Linked DNA regions of Homo sapiens: region 2 is linked to region 1. The links are contacts of gene promoters, found by promoter capture Hi-C in human tissues and cell types (Jung and others, 2019). All regions are on one chromosome and are shown on one strand. The core of a region is centred on a gene start or on the middle of the fragment in contact, and the rest is flanking DNA. Distances in the headings are between cores, read along the strand shown.

Region 1 (4,004 bases), core at 539-3,038:
CAGGTAGTACAGGTACTGCACCCTCCACCCCCACCTGCCCCATCCTCTCTGGTTAACTTTCCTGGAGAATCTCAAGATGTTACAGAGACAAGCAAAGCAAGTCACTTTCCATATTCAAAGTCCCAGGCCATTTTAGTACTTCTGTCATTCTGTGGACCCATCAATATCATACCCATTTTAGAGATGGCACAACCAGGACCCAGAGACTTTTCATGACGGCCCAGGGTCAGATATCTAGGTAGTTACGGAGACAGGACTTGAACGCCAGTCTCTCAGCCAATGGAGCTGACCCCTCAGGTGCCCTCCCAGACCCCTGCGTCCTCTCATGAGGTAGGGAGGCCAGATCTGGGTTGGGGGTGAGGCTGGCAGACATCCCTGAGGTCCAGGGATCTGGAACTGAGGGACACAGACACAGCATCCCATCCCTTTGCTGTATCACACAACGAGAACATTCTCTTTTAAGCCTCCTGATATGTGAAGGAGAAAGTCTCTGTTAGGTGCTAATGGGTATTTAACACCTCTCCAAACCTTGCCAATCTCCCTTTTTCACTGAGGGCACACATCTCAAGCCTTGGCAGGCCACGGTTTCCAGCTGGAATTTAATAACCTTGCTTTGTTTTCACTGTGCTTATTTTAACTCTTACTTTCTATTTATGGCAAGTGATACTGATTTCCCATTTAAGGCAGTGATATAATGATTCTCTAAAAAAACGTGTTTAAGGGGTGGGGAAAGTGGATCTGATATTTTAAAAAATATATTAAGTAATAAGTGGTGTGGAGATATGGCCCAGTGAGAAGGCCCGATGTCTGGCCTAGGTCAAGCCCCTCATTTAAAGGTGGGGAGGGAGAATGCAGGCAGGAGACGCAATGCTCAAGGCACCTGGTGTGTCCCCGTCGGCCGTGGTCTCTGAGACTCGCATGCCTCGAAGACCTCTGGCTACTAAGCCTAGGTGACTCCCCGCCCCTCTGGGCGACACGTGCATGGCCCATGTGCCAGTCCGCAGGGTCCCGTGGGCACCGTGAGCTCGGGAGGGAGGCGGCGGCTGGGACAGGCAGGTTGGACACCTGGGAGGGCACCCGGGGACTTCCGCGAAGGAGGAGGGCGCTGGAACCGTGGCGCGCTCGACCTGGCCGGGCGCAAGCCGCTGGAGACCCCGGCCGAGTGGGCAGGCGGCCGGACCCCATGCGGGTCACCTGCGGCCAGGCCGGGCGTGCGTGTGAGCGCGTGCGCAGACGTCAGCCTCCGAGGCCCGGGCCGCCTTCTGGGCAAGGTGCGCGCGCCCAGCGGCCCCGGCCCCACGCGCCCGGACACGCGGAACCGCAGACCGCGGCGCCCCGGAGGCCGCGAAAGGGATGGGCGGGGCCGGGCCGCGGGACCCGCCTCCCATTGGCCGGGCGCCGGGGCGAGGCGGGGCGCCGGGGTGGGGCGGGGCGAGCGGGCTCTGGGGGGCAGACGCTGGCGCTGGGCGGCGGGAGGCGCGGCTCGCGGGGGGCCGAAGGAGCAGGTGGGCGACGCTCGCAGGGGCGCGGGAGGGTGCCGCTGGGACCGTCATCAGGAGCCTGGGGTTCTGCCACCTTTCGGAGGGATCAGCGACCTCTTCGCCCTGCGGGTGACAGTGGGGCATCTGCCTGCGAGAGGGGGAAGGAGGGAGAACCCAGGGCCACACACAAAGTTCTCCTCATCTGGGGACAGGAGGAGGTGAAGGAGGAGGAGCCGGGTTGATGCTAACTTGGAGCTGCGAAACCTTGGGGCGGCGTTCAAGGCCCCCTCCCACACGCGCGCAGAGCAGAGCGCCCTGCTCCTCCTTCAGCTGCTGGCGTCGCCGCGCGGGGAGAAAGAAGCCGTCCCTCCGGCGCTGGGAGAGCTGCAGAGCCGCGGGCAGAGAAGGAGGCCGCGGCCGAGCCCGGCAGCCCGATACCCCCCATCCGAGCGACCCCCTTTGGGGCAGGCGGAGAAGGTGGCATAGGCGACCAGGAGGGTTCGCCCACCTGGGACACGCACCCACAGTCACCTCCAAAGGACCCCCCCTCCCCAAGTCTCTAGGAGCTGCTCCTTCATCACTGGAGTCGCCCCTACCTCTCTGCCCCCAGCCCGAGAGCCCCAGGCGGGGACCCCCGGATCGGACGTCCCCAAGCCTCCGGGCACCTGGCTCAGCAGGAGGCCCCCGGCTCGGGGCAGGGCAGGGCCGGCGGCGGCGAGCCGGAGCCCGCCCCCTGCCCGGGCCCCGCCGAGCCCTCGGAGCCCACCCATGGGGCACCTGCCCCTTGCGCCTCCTTGCCCGGCCGCGCCCAGCCCGGCGTCCCGAGCAGCGCAGGGGAGGATCCCCGCGCAGTGACCCGGGAGCCACCACAGACTCTGGGAGGCTCGGCGGCTGGAGCAGCAGGCAGCTCCCCGCAGCTCCCGGCGCTTCCAGGCAGCTCTCTGAGCCGTGCCAGAGGCCCGGCCCGCCATTCCCAGGTAGGAGACGCCCCAACAGAGCTGGGCATCTGGGGGAAGTGGAGCAGCCGGGAAGAAAGGGTAGAGGCTTGGAGGAGGAAAGCTCAGTGATTCCTTAGATGACCAGAGAAAGTGAAATTGATTGAGCACCTACTATGTGCCGGGATCGTCTGGCAACTTTGCATACCTAGAGAGAATTAAATTCGTTGAGCACCTACTGTATGTGTCAAACTGAGTGCTATACCCTTGACTTAATCCCAGGAAAGAAAGATTTATTGAGCTTCTACTATGTGCTAGTTTTGGTGCCACAGGCTTTGCATTTAAAGAGCTAGAGTAATAGCCCATTTAAATAGGAGGAAACGGGGGCTCAGGGAAGACGAGTCAACTACCACAAACACTCCTGTCCCTCTTCTGGAGCTGGCTGCAGCCTGCATTACCTGGAGGTGGGGAAGGAAGATTAAGAAGCTCCTTCGTTATCCAGAGTTCTTGAGCTTTTTCTGGGTTGGTGCAGAGTGAGTTTCCTGGATGATTCCCTTCCCAGGAGGGGTTTCCTGTAACTTAGCTGTCTTGGAGGGCCCGGAAGGCAGCTCTGGAGGCCTCTCTGTGCCCTCCCCTCCCCTTGTCCCCAGCACCAGGAGGATGACAGGGGATGTTGTCCAAGACCTCATGGAAGGTGGGAAGCCAGGCTGGGAGGGAGCAGCCAGGTCAGGAGCCAGTGAATCAAGCCTCCTGTGGTGTCAGAGACAAGATGGGGTCCCTGCAAGACCTGCGCCTGCATTCCAGTCCAGCCTCACCAGGCTGCTCTAGGCAGCCCCACGACTGCCAAGATAAAGTGCCACGAAGAAAAGAACCCAGCATGTGTTCAGGTTTGCTGCGGGTCAAGAGCTGGGTCAGCCTCCAGACTTATTGGAAACCCAGGGCCACACAGGGGGTTTATGTCTTACCATTAACAGAGGAATAACCTGAGCCCCAGGAAGCCAAGTCATTTGCCCAGGGCTGCCGGGCTGGTGAGAGGCAGAGTTGGCCTGCCAGAAGTGGATGCCTGCCTACCTTCTACCACCTGAGCTGCCAAGGGTGGTGGGGTTGGCTTTGCCAAGCTCCCGGACTCTCAGAGTGGCAGCTGGAAGCCAGTGATGGCAATGTGCGTGTCCAAAGAGGCTGAGTGTGCACTGATGGAGGAGGCATGGGGGTGTGGAGGAGGGGCAGTGCAGTGAAACAGGCTCTGGGGCATACACCGGGAGGACACGTCCAGACTCTTGTCCTGCTGCCTGTGCCCGTGTGACCCCTTCATCTTTCAGGCAGGCCCTGGGAGAGAGGCTCAAGGGAGAAGTGGTGAATCCACAGGTGCACTTGCTCAGAGGTGGCTGGCAGGGTTAGGGGAGAATCCTGGGAGGTGCCTGCCCCCTTTCCGCTCCGCTGCCTGCAGGGAGAGAGGGAGTGAGAATATAGTATGTCTCGGCGTCATCCCCCCGCCTGATGCCAGCTGAGGCTTCACTGAGACAGACAGTGTTTTGGAAAAGACCAGTTTTGGCTGGGGGTGGGTTTTCATAGAGTTAAGAGCCCAGAC
Region 2 (4,004 bases), core at 991-3,490, 450 kb after region 1:
ACAAGACAGGGAAGGGAGCAAAGACAGGGGAGTTAACAAAAAGGGAGAGAATACAGAGAGGGCCAATGCACTGGCTTTCTCAATGACATTGGAGAAAAGAGGCAGTGGGGGTAATTAAATGAGAGAACTGAAGAGTCTTAATGAGAAAATGAGACGCTTGTCTTTAAATTTTCAGAAATTAAGCAGTTCTAAATTGACTAACCCCAAAATGTGGCCTTAGAATAGTTGGTGAAAGAGAAGAAAGGCAATGAAACAGATTAATTAGAGAACCAGACATAAGACTAGCTAAGGTGCTGGATCAGTCTTCCACACAGACACTGGAGTCTCTTAAGACAATAGCAATACTTAAGGTAAGAAGAAAGCCCACAATCCAAGAGCTACAAGTTTTTGTTCATTTTTTAAATGAGGGAGGGACAAAACAATAAATGACAGTACTGCATAAGGGAAAAGGTTAGACTAGCCAGATTACACGAGCTTTTAAGGAACAGGGAATTTCACCCAAGGGTATAGGATTTTATGTAAGCATTGGAGAGGGGAGAGAGAGAACAACAGAATACTAATCTCTGTAATACAGGAGAACAAGGAACACCGAAACACCCACTAAGCCAAGCATGGTGTTGCACACCTGTAGTCCCAGCTGCTTGGGAGGCTGAGGCAGGGGGATCACTTGAGCTTGGGAGTTTGAGACCAGCCTGGGCAACACAGAGAGACCCCATCTCTAAATTTTAAAAATTACAAAAACAAAAAACAAAAAACCCACCCACTAGAAGGGAGATAGAGGATGTAAAGTCCTGAGAAAGAAAACAAATTTAGTTAAGAGAAAGGAGTAAAAATAACATGCAGTTAAGAGGCTGAAGATGAAGGAAGTTTGCTCACTGTGCAACAGGAAAAAATGGGACAGTCTATGAGGAGCCACCGGAAGATCGGAATGGAAGAGAAAAAGTATAAAGTCAGTTAGGCCTGACAACAGAGGAATATACAGATGGCCACAAGTATTTACATTCTGGATGCTGACCAAGGAGTGCAGAGTTGAAAGAATGGTCTGTTTGGGTATTGCAAGGTTTCTTTAAAAGATAAAAAAAATTAGTCCAAAGAATTCCTTAACAGAAAATTGGAGGGAGGCAGGAGGACTTGGGCCTTTGGACAGGAGTCAGCATCAGCCAGGTTTAAGTGAGCTTTTAGGAGTCACAGTCAGAAGAGCAGAGGAGAACAGGGTAATCCAAATACCATGTCACCTACCAAACATTGAAAACAATGGCAGCTCTGGTCACTGGAGAGAGGAAGAACCCTGAGATTCTGCAAGGAAGAAACCACGGCCTAAAATATCTATTTTGCCAAAGCAAACAAGAAAACTCTCTGAATGAAGTTACTTATGATGTGGACCGACTCAGGCTGACAAGAACGGGCACCAGATTCAGGTTTCTGGCACCTCCGATAATGACTGATGAACTAATAAAAATGAGGCCTCAAGATTCAAGAACTTGGATACCTCTAATCAAAAATAAAAATTAACAAATCAAACAATTACTTTTTTACACACCTAATATATGTAACCACTCCTGTGGCTAAGTGCTTTACTTGCAATATCTCATTAGTTCTCACAACTCTGTGAGGTAGAAACTATTATTAACATTTTACAGATGAAGGAACTGAGCCTCAGAGAAATTGAGAAACTTGCCTAAGGTAATAAATCTATTAAACAGCAAAGTCAATAGGACTCTAAACCCCAAACTCTTAACCACTGAGCTCCACTTGACTCTTACCTTGCCACACCAGCGGATGTTGCCAATATGCTTAAGATATATCCTCTGAAATATACAACTCAAAGTATCATTACTAGCAGAGGGAACGCAAAGAAATAAAAGGCATGGTCCTCAAGAAAATTAACTCTGCTTAGAGAGACAACAGATAACCACACACACACATACACATACACACACACACAAGTAACAATTCGAAACTATGTTTAAGTATTCAACTAATGACAAAGATGACAAGGATACAGAAGATAACAGAATGTAGATTCAAGAGTTCTTTAAGTCTCTGTCCAAGGCAACAAACTAACAATCCATTCATCTAGCCCGGCAGACTTCTCAAACTTAAGAGATAATTTTAAATTCCTTAGGAAATACCTGATTAAAGCTTACTAAAACACCAGAAAAAAAATGAAATCAAATGGTTTTAACTGAATACTTATTCTCTTGATTCTTGAACCCTCTCATAACCCAACCACTTCCCATTATGATACCTAGTTTCCTTATAAAAAAGCTCCATTTTGACCCAAAGCAGATGGAAATTTACCTTTACTGATTATGTCTCCTGGGTCATTTATCCAATACGTCTTGCCTCTTGCTTCAGTATAAACTTCAGAAGTTCGAAGCTAAGCCAAAAACAAAACAGCTACAAGATGAAGGTTAGTAAGGATGAACCCACTCCTGGAAACATCTATGTCTCTGCCTTACAACTCTGAATTCCCTCACATCTTCCACTCAGCCTCGTATGTAAATGAACTCCCCTCCCTTTCCCTACTTGGAGGCAGAAAACAGGATACCTTGCTTTACTTTCAAACTTCTCAGAGGTAGGATGAGATACAGAATGGTTATTAAGTGCTCTGAATCTCAAGCAAAACATAACATACAAAAACATAATACAATACTGGTTTTAACATATTTACCATGTAATGTCCAAACAGCTTTATTCCACTACTAAGAATCAACTAAGGAACACATAAGACAGAAAGGACATAAACAGATGCATATACAAGTGTTAAAAGCCCAAGCAAAGCTAAATTCACCTTTGCGCCTCAAAAGGACCATTTTGATTACAGGTCAGAGTTTGCATCATCAAAATGAATCGAATTGTTCCAAGTAATACTGAAATAGCAGCTGAGGGTAAAATGAACTTTAGCCACTGGACTCTGACCATCATCAGAGGCAGTTATTAAAACACAGGTATGTTAACAGGGGAAAATAGCAGAAAATAAAGGTGGATGTAATGGTTTTAAAATATGCTCACAAAGTATTTGATACTACTCCATTCAAAAGGTAGGTCCTGCTTTTCCTCCCCTTAAGAGGAGCTAGACTTGCTTCTAACAGCATAAAGCAAAAATTTAAGTAGATCCTCCTGCCTCAGTCAAGCCTTCAGATAAATGCAGCCCAGTCAAAAGCTTGACTGAAACCTCATGAGAGATCCTGGGACAGAACTACACAGCTAAGTTGTCTCAAATTTCTGACCTACAGAAACTATGAGATAATAAGTGTTTGTTGTTTGAAGCCAGTAAGTGTAGGGCTAATTTGTTACACAGCGAGAAATAACTAATAGGGAGGGTATGTTGTAGTGCACTGTGTTATGAATCCCAAACTGCCATTATGGGAGGTCGAGGCAGATAGATCACTTAAGGTCAGGAGTTTAAGACCAGCCTGGCCAACATGGTAAAACCCCTTCTCTACTAAAAATACAAAATTTAGCCAGGTGCTGTGGCAGGCACCCGTAATCCCAGTTACTCAGGAGGCTGAGGCAGGAGAATCACCTGAACCCAGGAGGCAAAGGTTGCAGGGAGCCAAGATTGCGCCACTGCACTCCAGCCTGGGAGACAGAACGAGACTGTCTCGAAAAACAAAAAAACAAACAAAAAAATCATTAAAGGTCCCTCCAAAGTTCTGAAAACAAGGACTACCAGAAAGAAGCACACCAGTATTGTAGTAACTTCCCCTTCTAGTTTGAGCAAGCTAATAGGAATATAATGAGAGCCAGAAATATATGCCATTATGTAATTTAAAATTTTGTAGTAGCCATATTAAAAATGGTAAAAAAAAAAAGGTGAAACTAATTTTAAGAATATATTTTATTGAATCCAACACAGTTAAAATATTAGCATTTCAACATGTTGATTTTAAAACATACTCAATATTTTAAAAATCTCAACATAGTATCTTACATTCTTTTTTGTACTAATTCTTCTAAATCTAGTGTATAGTATTTTACATTGAGTGCATCCTTTTATT

The links. Contacts are between HindIII fragments. The study calls those that stand out against the background at their distance.
Region 2: a fragment that was not itself captured here is called in contact with the fragment with the promoter of RASD2 in region 1 in 1 of the 25 tissues and cell types used here (bladder).

Annotation. Positions count from the first base shown.
Region 1 is chr22:35,539,043-35,543,046 of GRCh38, forward strand. It overlaps RASD2 (RASD family member 2), which reads left to right and starts at 1,789. Exons shown (of 3, transcript NM_014310.4): 1 at 1,789-2,458. RefSeq lists enhancers at 451-1,013, 1,014-1,576, 1,577-2,139 and a silencer at 1,261-1,480. The HindIII fragment of the contact is 17,894 bases long and covers 1-4,004 here.
Region 2 is chr22:35,990,375-35,994,378 of GRCh38, forward strand. The region is part of intron 1 of RBFOX2 (RNA binding fox-1 homolog 2); the gene reads right to left. Among named protein-coding and RNA genes, the nearest start is that of RBFOX2, 36 kb to the right of the region's middle. The HindIII fragment of the contact is 4,413 bases long and covers 35-4,004 here.